Linked DNA regions of Homo sapiens: regions 2 and 3 are each linked to region 1. Evidence: promoter capture Hi-C in 16 types of primary human blood cells and fetal thymus (Javierre and others, 2016). All regions are on one chromosome and are shown on one strand. The core of a region is centred on a gene start or on the middle of the fragment in contact, and the rest is flanking DNA. Distances in the headings are between cores, read along the strand shown. Region 1 holds the start of JMJD7 (jumonji domain containing 7). Region 2 overlaps RTF1 (RTF1 homolog, Paf1/RNA polymerase II complex component). Region 3 overlaps TYRO3 (TYRO3 protein tyrosine kinase).

Evidence for each region. The method cuts DNA at HindIII sites, captures the fragments that hold promoters and counts their contacts. A CHiCAGO score of 5 or more calls a contact.
Region 2: a contact is called between a fragment that was not itself captured here and the fragment with the promoter of JMJD7 in region 1, in 1 of 17 cell types (M0 macrophages). The highest score is 5.2, in M0 macrophages.
Region 3: a contact is called between a fragment that was not itself captured here and the fragment with the promoter of JMJD7 in region 1, in 1 of 17 cell types (endothelial precursors). The highest score is 6.7, in endothelial precursors.

The regions. Positions count from the first base shown.
Region 1 is chr15:41,826,823-41,829,394 of GRCh38, forward strand. It overlaps JMJD7 (jumonji domain containing 7), which reads left to right and starts at 1,270. Exons shown (of 8, transcript NM_001114632.2): 1 at 1,270-1,366. The coding sequence starts at 1,303. MAPKBP1 (mitogen-activated protein kinase binding protein 1) reads left to right here. Exons shown (of 31, transcript NM_014994.3): 31 at 1-1,033. It overlaps JMJD7-PLA2G4B (JMJD7-PLA2G4B readthrough), which reads left to right and starts at 1,270. Exons shown (of 25, transcript NM_005090.4): 1 at 1,270-1,366. The coding sequence starts at 1,303. RefSeq lists enhancers at 868-1,097, 1,129-1,423 and a silencer at 1,158-1,247. The HindIII fragment of the contact is 18,805 bases long and covers 1-2,572 here.
Region 2 is chr15:41,470,859-41,473,430 of GRCh38, forward strand. RTF1 (RTF1 homolog, Paf1/RNA polymerase II complex component) reads left to right here. Exons shown (of 18, transcript NM_015138.5): 8 at 314-491. Among named protein-coding and RNA genes, the nearest start is that of ITPKA, 22 kb to the right of the region's middle. The HindIII fragment of the contact is 4,459 bases long and covers 1-2,572 here.
Region 3 is chr15:41,562,191-41,564,762 of GRCh38, forward strand. TYRO3 (TYRO3 protein tyrosine kinase) reads left to right here. Exons shown (of 19, transcript NM_006293.4): 4 at 358-528; 5 at 1,994-2,080. Among named protein-coding and RNA genes, the nearest start is that of TYRO3, 4.3 kb to the left of the region's middle. RefSeq lists enhancers at 183-870, 2,247-2,572. The HindIII fragment of the contact is 3,171 bases long and covers 1-2,572 here.

The DNA.
Region 1 (2,572 bases), core at 20-2,519:
GGGGACCCTAGGAGGTAGAGTGGGACCATGTCGTGAGGCAGTTGAAGAGTTGAGGAAAGGTTTTTCTGGGCCCTACTGCTCCCCTCTGCTGCAGGTAAGTCAGAGCAGCTTTACCACAGCTTCAGGCCACGAGAGCCCCTTCACCCGCCCTGCTGCGCCATAGGCAGAGGCTTATAAAGAAATGGGTTCTGGGCCAGGTGTGGTGGCTCAAGCCTGTAATCCCAGCACTTTGGGAGGCCGAGGCGGGTGGATCACCTGAGGTTAGGAGTTCGAGATCAGCCTGGCCAACATGGTGAAACCCTGTCTACTAAAAATAAAAAAATTAGCTGGGCGTGGTGGTGGGCGCCTGTAATCCCAGCTACTCGGGAGGTTTAGGCAGGAGAATCGCTTGAACCCTGGAGGTGGAGGTGGAGGTTGCAGTGAGCCGAGATCGCGCCATTGCACTCCAACCTAGGTGACAAAGCTACACGCCATCTCAAAAAAAAAAAAGAAAAAGGGTTACAAAAGGTTCCCAGCTCCGGGGCATCAGCCTGAGTGCGCTTGAGCTGCTCCAAACCTGGCCCTTCCCCACTCCTCTAGCATCGCCACCCGCATGGCCCTGGAACTCCCGCGGCGGCGGGGGCGGGCCCGTGCCTGCTGTGCCCCGACTTCCCACACCAGCCGCGCCCACCGCAGGTGGGACTCAGGTTCGCCCTCTGGGCCAGGTCCTTCACGAGGAGGGAGCTACCCTTCGCCAGAAGTTTGTGAGAATGTGGCCGCCCTTTTCCTGCCCTCTGCCCCATGTGGGTGGGGGGCCTCGTGGCCCGGCCGGCGCCCCGTCCCCTTCTGCATGTCTGAGGCCACCGGCAACCGCCGCCCCACTCCAGATTTGCCCCCGCCTTGTTTTGAAAGCCCCTTATTTATAACTTTTATACTTTGTGCAGGTCGCGGCGCTTCCTGCCTCATCCTCGGCTGCATGGGGCGGGGGCGCTGTTTTTAACGTGCCCGTTTGTACTGATGTATGAACTTGTCAATAAACACAATTGTTTGTTAACCCTGGGATGCCGGCCAGTGGGGCAGGCCGAAGCGGGCGCTGCCAGTCGCTCCACCGCTTCGGTGGCAGAACCCGGTGTGTGTCCAGGGGCAGGACGGGGCGGGGTGCTGGGGGTGTGGCCTGCGGCGGGTGCCTCTGGAAGGGCGGGGCGAGGGTCTGGGGGTGTGGCCTGCGGCGGGGACTCTGGGGAGGGCGGGGCGAGTGCTTGGGGTGTGGCCTGCGGCGGGGCGTCGGGGAAAGGCGGGGTCTCGGCCGGCGCTGACGCAGCCATGGCGGAGGCGGCTTTGGAAGCCGTGCGGAGCGAGTTACGAGAATTCCCGGCCGCTGCAAGGGGTGAGTGGCTCTCCCACAGGCTGCGGCGATTTCCGAACACGGGAGGGGCCCTGGGATGCCGCTGACACCGGGGGCTCGGAACCTCGTGTGTGCGACTGCCCTGAGGCCCCGCTCGGGTTGCTCTTCTGTGGCAACCTGCTTCCCTTCTCCCGTGTTCGCGCGCTCCCGCGGCTTCCTGGGTGATTCTGTTCACGTTGTTCCCAAGGCCCGGTGCCGTCTTGACCGTGGTCGCGGCGAAGCCCTGTGTTTCCTACAGTCTTGAGCAGCTTGCTGTTACCCTTGTTGAAAGCTCATCGAAGGCACACAGCTGGTGGTCGGATTCCTCCCCCACGCGCCCCACCTCCGACCTCAACTCCCTTGTCGCACTTTGGGAGGATTGCAGGCTGACCAAATGGTCCCTGGCTCTTCCCCTGCTTGGTTTTTATTCCTTTTCTTTCTTTCTCTCTTCCCTCCTTCCTTCTTTTTTCTATTTTTAAATGATTTCTTACCACTGAACAGCAACACAGGCTCATGTGTATGTGATGGGTATGTAATATACAGTGGTACGCAATGTAAATGAAGCAAGGTTTCCTCCCAGCCCCAGTTTGCATTCTTACAGAAAGATTGTTTATATCCGTGCACACACGACTTTTTACCCTTTTTTTGTACAAATAGTAGCCTGCTAAACACACTCTTCTGCACCGTGTATCTTGGAGATCATTTCACATTCCTCTACCTCAGTCTTTTTCACGTCTGTGTGCTAGTGCTGTATTCACTTAGTCATTTAGGTCATGTCCAATCCGTTGTTTTCAATAATGCTGCAACGAATACTTTGAGGATTGATTTAACAAATACTTATTCAGCATCTCTGTGTGCCAGGCTCTGTTCAGTGTGTTTGAGATACATCACTGAACAAAACAAATCTGTCTTTTACAGTCTATGTCCTGTTACATTCTAAGTGAGAACGTGGACAATCAACCACAGGTGTACTGAATGAGTACATTGTAGAGTAGAAGAAGTAGGTTAGAAGGTAAGTGCAGGCAAAGCCCTCTTTGGGAGTATGCCTGATGTGTTTAGGAAACAGTGAAGAAGCCAGTCTGCAGGAGCAGCGTCTTCTGCGCATGTGTGAGTATGTTTGTTGGTTAAATACTTTATATTTTTTGAGACAGGGTCTTACTCTGTCACACAGGCTGGAGTGCAGTGGCACGATCATAGCTCGCTGCACCT
Region 2 (2,572 bases), core at 36-2,535, 360 kb before region 1:
TGTTTTAGCCGGGATGGTCTCGATCTCCTGACCTCGTGATCCGCCCGCCTCGGCCTCCCAAAGTGCTGGGATTACAGGCTCATTCATTTTCTTACTCTGATGGGTTATCTAAGATGGCAGCCTCATTTGAAACAGCTCATACTACTGGTCAGGAACAGGATCCTATTACAAGTCTTTGCTGGTGCTTCATTTACTTCTCCTCCTAGGCCAGTCACATGTACTTTGGTTAAGTTTTGAGGAGTTGATATTATTTTTCTGTCTTGTTCTGTTTTTATGATGAACATTTTTTCCAGTGCCCCTTTGTTCCTCTTAGGAAAGAAGAGATCCCTCCCAAATCCCAACCAGTTTCCTTACCTGAAGAATTGAATCGGGTTCGATTATCACGGCATAAGCTAGAACGCTGGTGTCACATGCCCTTCTTTGCTAAAACTGTCACAGGATGTTTTGTGCGGATTGGCATCGGAAACCACAACAGCAAACCAGTTTACCGGGTTGGTATTTCTTCCCTTGGACAATTGTCCATGCTTTCAGTATAATTAGTCTCAACTGAGGGCAGGAGCTACTGAAAAAATCGATCACTCTTCTCTCAGCATTTGATGGAAAGTAGACTCCAAGTGGGATCCCCATAGAGCAGTGAGGTGCCCAGGAATCCTTCATGACTTGTTGCCAAGAGGAGGACTTGGAGCCCAAGGGCCTGGAAGATTTGGATGTAGAATAATTTTCTCTATTCTCCCTTCAGTATAAAAGGGAGAAGGGAGGCATCTATGAAGTGTTCATTGGGAGTTACATAATCTAAAAGATTTGTTCATTTGAAAAACCAATGAATGAAAAGTTTCATGTTGCATACCAAGTGACTTCTACACCAGGGAATTGTATTGAGGTTAAAAAAAACCCTCCAGACTAATACAGGTTATTATGTAGGTTCCAGCACTGCTTCTGTGGTCTAGGTGGACTGGGCACAGTGGCTTACTCCTGTAATCCCAACACTTTGGGATTTATTTATTTATTTATTTATATTTTATTTTACCATTATTATTATTTTTTTATTTTTATTTTTTGAGACGGAGTCTCATTCTGTCACCCAGGCTGGAGTGCAATGGCGTGGTCTTGGCTCACTGCAACCTCCGCCTCCCGGGTTCAAGTGATTCTCCCGCCTCAGCCTCCCAAGTAGCTGGGACTACAGGCGCATGCCACCACACCTGGCTAATTTTTGTATTTTTAGTAGAGACGGGGTTTCACCATGTTGGCGAGGCTGGTCTTGAACTCTTGACCTTGTGATCCACCTGCCTCAGCCTCCCAAAGTGCTGGCGTGAGCCACCGCACCTGGCCTATTTTTATTTTTATTTATTTGTTGTTTTTTTTTTTCAGACAGAGTTTCGCTTTTGTCGCCCAGGCTGGAGTGCAATGGCACGATCTTGGCTCACTGCAACCTCCGCCTCCTGGGTTCAAGTAATTCCCCTGCCTCAGCCTCCCGAGTAGCTAGTGTTACAGGCACCCGCCACCGTGCCTGGCTACTGTTTGTATTTTTAGTAGAGATGGGGTTTCACCATGTTGGCCAGGCTGGTCTTGAACTCCTGACCTCAGGTGATCCACCTGTCTCGGCCTCCCAAAGTGCTGGGATTATTGACATGAGCCACTGAGCCCGGCCTTATTTTTAATTTTTTGTTTTTTATTTTTGGAGACAGAGTCTTACCCCGTTGCCCAGGCTGGAGTGCAGTGGCACGCTCTTGGCTCACTGCAGCCTCTGCCTCCTGGGTTCAAGCGATTCTCATGCCTCAGCCTCCAAGTAGCTGGGACTACAGGCATGCGCCACCACGCCTGGCTGATTTTTTTTTAGACTGAGTCTCTTTTTTTTTTTTTTTAGACGGAGTCTCGCTATGTGGCCCAGGCTGGAGTTCAGTGGCACGATCTCGGCTCACTGCAAACTCTGGCTCCCAGGTTCACGCCATTCTCCTGTCTCAGCCTCCCCAGTAGCTGGGACTACAGGCGCCCGCAACCACGCCTGGTTAATTTTTTGTATTTTTAGTGGAGATGGGGTTTCACCGTGTTAGCCAGGATGGTCTTGATCTCCTAACCTCGTGATCCGCCCGCCTCGGCCTCCCAAAGTGCTGGGATTACAGGCGTGAGCCACCGCACCCGGCCTCACTTTGGGATTTAAAAAAAAATTTTTGTAGCAACAGCCTCTCTCTGTTTCTTATGCTGGTCTCAAACTCCGGGCCTCAAGTGATGTTCTGGCCTCAGCCTCCTAAAGTGCTTGGTGTTGGTTTTTTGTTTTGTTTTGTTTTGTTTTTTTGAGACGGAGTCTCGCCCTGTCATCCAGGCTGGAGTGCAGTGGCGCGATCTTGGCTTACTGCAAGCTCCCACTCCTGGGTTCACGCCATTCTCCTGCCTCAGCCTCCCGAGTAGCTGGGACTACAGGCGCCCACCACCATGCCAGCTAATTTTTTGTATTTTTAGTAGAGACGGGGTTTCACCTTGTTAGCCAGGATGGTCTCGATCTCCTGACTTCGTGATCTGCCTTCCTTGGCCTCCCAAAATGCTGGGATTACAGGTGTGAGCCACCACGCCCGGC
Region 3 (2,572 bases), core at 36-2,535, 260 kb before region 1:
GATGTGTCTAAGGTGCCAGGCATGGTGGCGTGTGCCTGTAGTCCCAGCTACTCCGGAGGCTAAGGCCAGAGGATCACTTGAGCCCCCAGGAGTTCCAGGCCAGCCTGGGCAACATAGAGAGACCTCCCCGCGACCAATCTCAAAAAAAAAAAAAAAAAAAAAAAATTCCTAAGGAGCCTGAAAAAGAGAAGCACCGCCTACCTCTCAAGCTAGATGCCTGTTCTGCTGTTGACCTAATCATAAGGGGCCTGTGGGAACCTTCTGCGTGGAGGACTTCAGATGTAAACAGACTTGTGATTTGTACAGTAGGAAGCCAAGAGGTGGCAGGGCTCACTCCTCACTCCCCTTCTCTCCTAGGTGTGCCATTTTTCACAGTGGAGCCAAAAGATCTGGCAGTGCCACCCAATGCCCCTTTCCAACTGTCTTGTGAGGCTGTGGGTCCCCCTGAACCTGTTACCATTGTCTGGTGGAGAGGAACTACGAAGATCGGGGGACCCGCTCCCTCTCCATCTGTTTTAAATGTAACAGGTGAGCAGCCTCAGAAGGGGGCTGGGAGTGGAGAAGGAGCTGGGTCCTGGAGGGCACTGAAGCTGGCAGTTTCAGCCACTGAGCTTGCGGTTGTGAGCGTCCAGAGCAAGCCCCAGTGTCTGGGGACGTGAGCTGCACCATTACTAAGCTCATTAGTCAGGTGTGCTAGGCTGGCTGGGTGGGCTGATTAGTGGTGATCCTGCTGTGTGTGCTTAAGGAGGGTGTGGGGCCACCTTTGGTTCACAGCAGTCCAGGCCATGCACAGCTGGCCCTCAGAGATGAATTGTATGAGACCAGGGGCACCCATCCCCCACCCCTCCCAAGGAAAGGAGCCAGAAACCAGCCCACGCAGAACTAGGGAGGAGTATCTGGCAGACACTGAGAAGACAAGACTCTCAGGCTGCAGAGAGGGGAGAGGAGGGAGAGAGAAGGGGTAGGGGGAGGTTAGCACAAAGATACAGGGCCTCCTCCCCTAATGGCGCTTTCCGGGAAACCTCCACACGTTTTCTCAAACAACTGTGTCTGTCCATACCTCTGCACAGTCACACCTGCACACCCACCTGGGCCCCAAGTTTCTTGGGCACATACCCTCACATGCTTGTAAGGCTTGCTTATTTGTGAAACAAAGGCTTGCTTATTTGTTTCTGGTTGAGGCTTGAATTGGGCAAAAAAGATGGGAGTCTGAGCTTGGTCTCATGTGCTGGAAGGTGCCAGGGAAATGGGCGCTGAGCTAGGTTCTCCAGCAATTTGAATCTTGACAAGAGGTGGACTATGAGACCTCTTGGAAGCAAGTGCAGGTCCTGTTCAGGAGGCGCTGAGTTGGAGCAGATTAGAGAGGAGGTTGGGTTCACTTCCTTCCAGGTGTGCGTGGTTGGGACCCTCAGGCAGGCAGCCTGATAATAAGCACTCACTGAACTCCTACTCCACACCACACTGTGCTAGGCACCACAGGGGACAGAGGGAATACAAAGGAAATAGAAGCTAAAGAACTGAGTATAACTGGGGAGACAAGACATGTGCATAAAGAGCTGAGAACTACTGCAAGGCAGAGAGTCTGCAAATAACAACCCCAAGGGGGCACAGAGCAAACAGAAGGGCTCACTCTGGTATGCGCAATAAAAGAGTGACCAGAAAAGGGGGGCAATTTGTGCTGTGTGTGGGAGATGGGATGGAGGTGGGAGGGTGGTATAACGTTTCTCAAGGGCTTATTTAGCATGCCGTGCACTTGACACACATTACCTGATTCTCACAATTCTCCCATTTGAGAGATGAGAAAACAGAGCCCTCTCCAGGCTCACCAGACTCTAGTGTCCCTGTTCATTTCACCGTACCTCACTGCCCAGCCCCTTCCTTTGGCAGGAGGGATTTAAGGATGTTCAGACCAGAGCCTGAGTATTCCCCTTTCCCAGTCCCGCACTGAGTGGGGTTGCTGCTTGGGGAGCTGACTGAGGTTTTCTGGCCCCAGGGGTGACCCAGAGCACCATGTTTTCCTGTGAAGCTCACAACCTAAAAGGCCTGGCCTCTTCTCGCACAGCCACTGTTCACCTTCAAGGTAGGAGGGCTGGCAGGGAGGAAGGGTGGATGAGGCCAGGGGCATTCCCAGCGAGCTGTCCAGCAGTTAGAATCATTCTGTGTTCCAGCTCCCCTTGTGGTCCTGCTGGGATCTAGGGAGCAAGGGGTTAATTGGCATAGCTCCCATTCCTAGTGGGAGCACCTGAGACCCTGCGTGGCTGAGATGAGAATAGAATCCTGACGTCACAGCAGATTTCCCATCACGAAGCAGAGTCCTTGGGAGGGAGGGAAGGAGGGAGGGAGGCAGCAGGAGATGGTCAAGGCCCATGCCCAGCCTTGTTTCTGCCCCTCCCTTTGAGGGGATGGGGGTGGGGAAAACAGCCTAGTACCGGATGGAGGAGACCAGAGGGCTGGTGTACAGAGAGAGGGGGAGGGAGAGGGTGTCTGCAGGAGCCAGGCTGTGGCTGCAGGGGCAGCTGCCTGTCTCTCCCTTGTATCTCCCAAGCCTGAGGTGCTGCCCCCACATACCCTC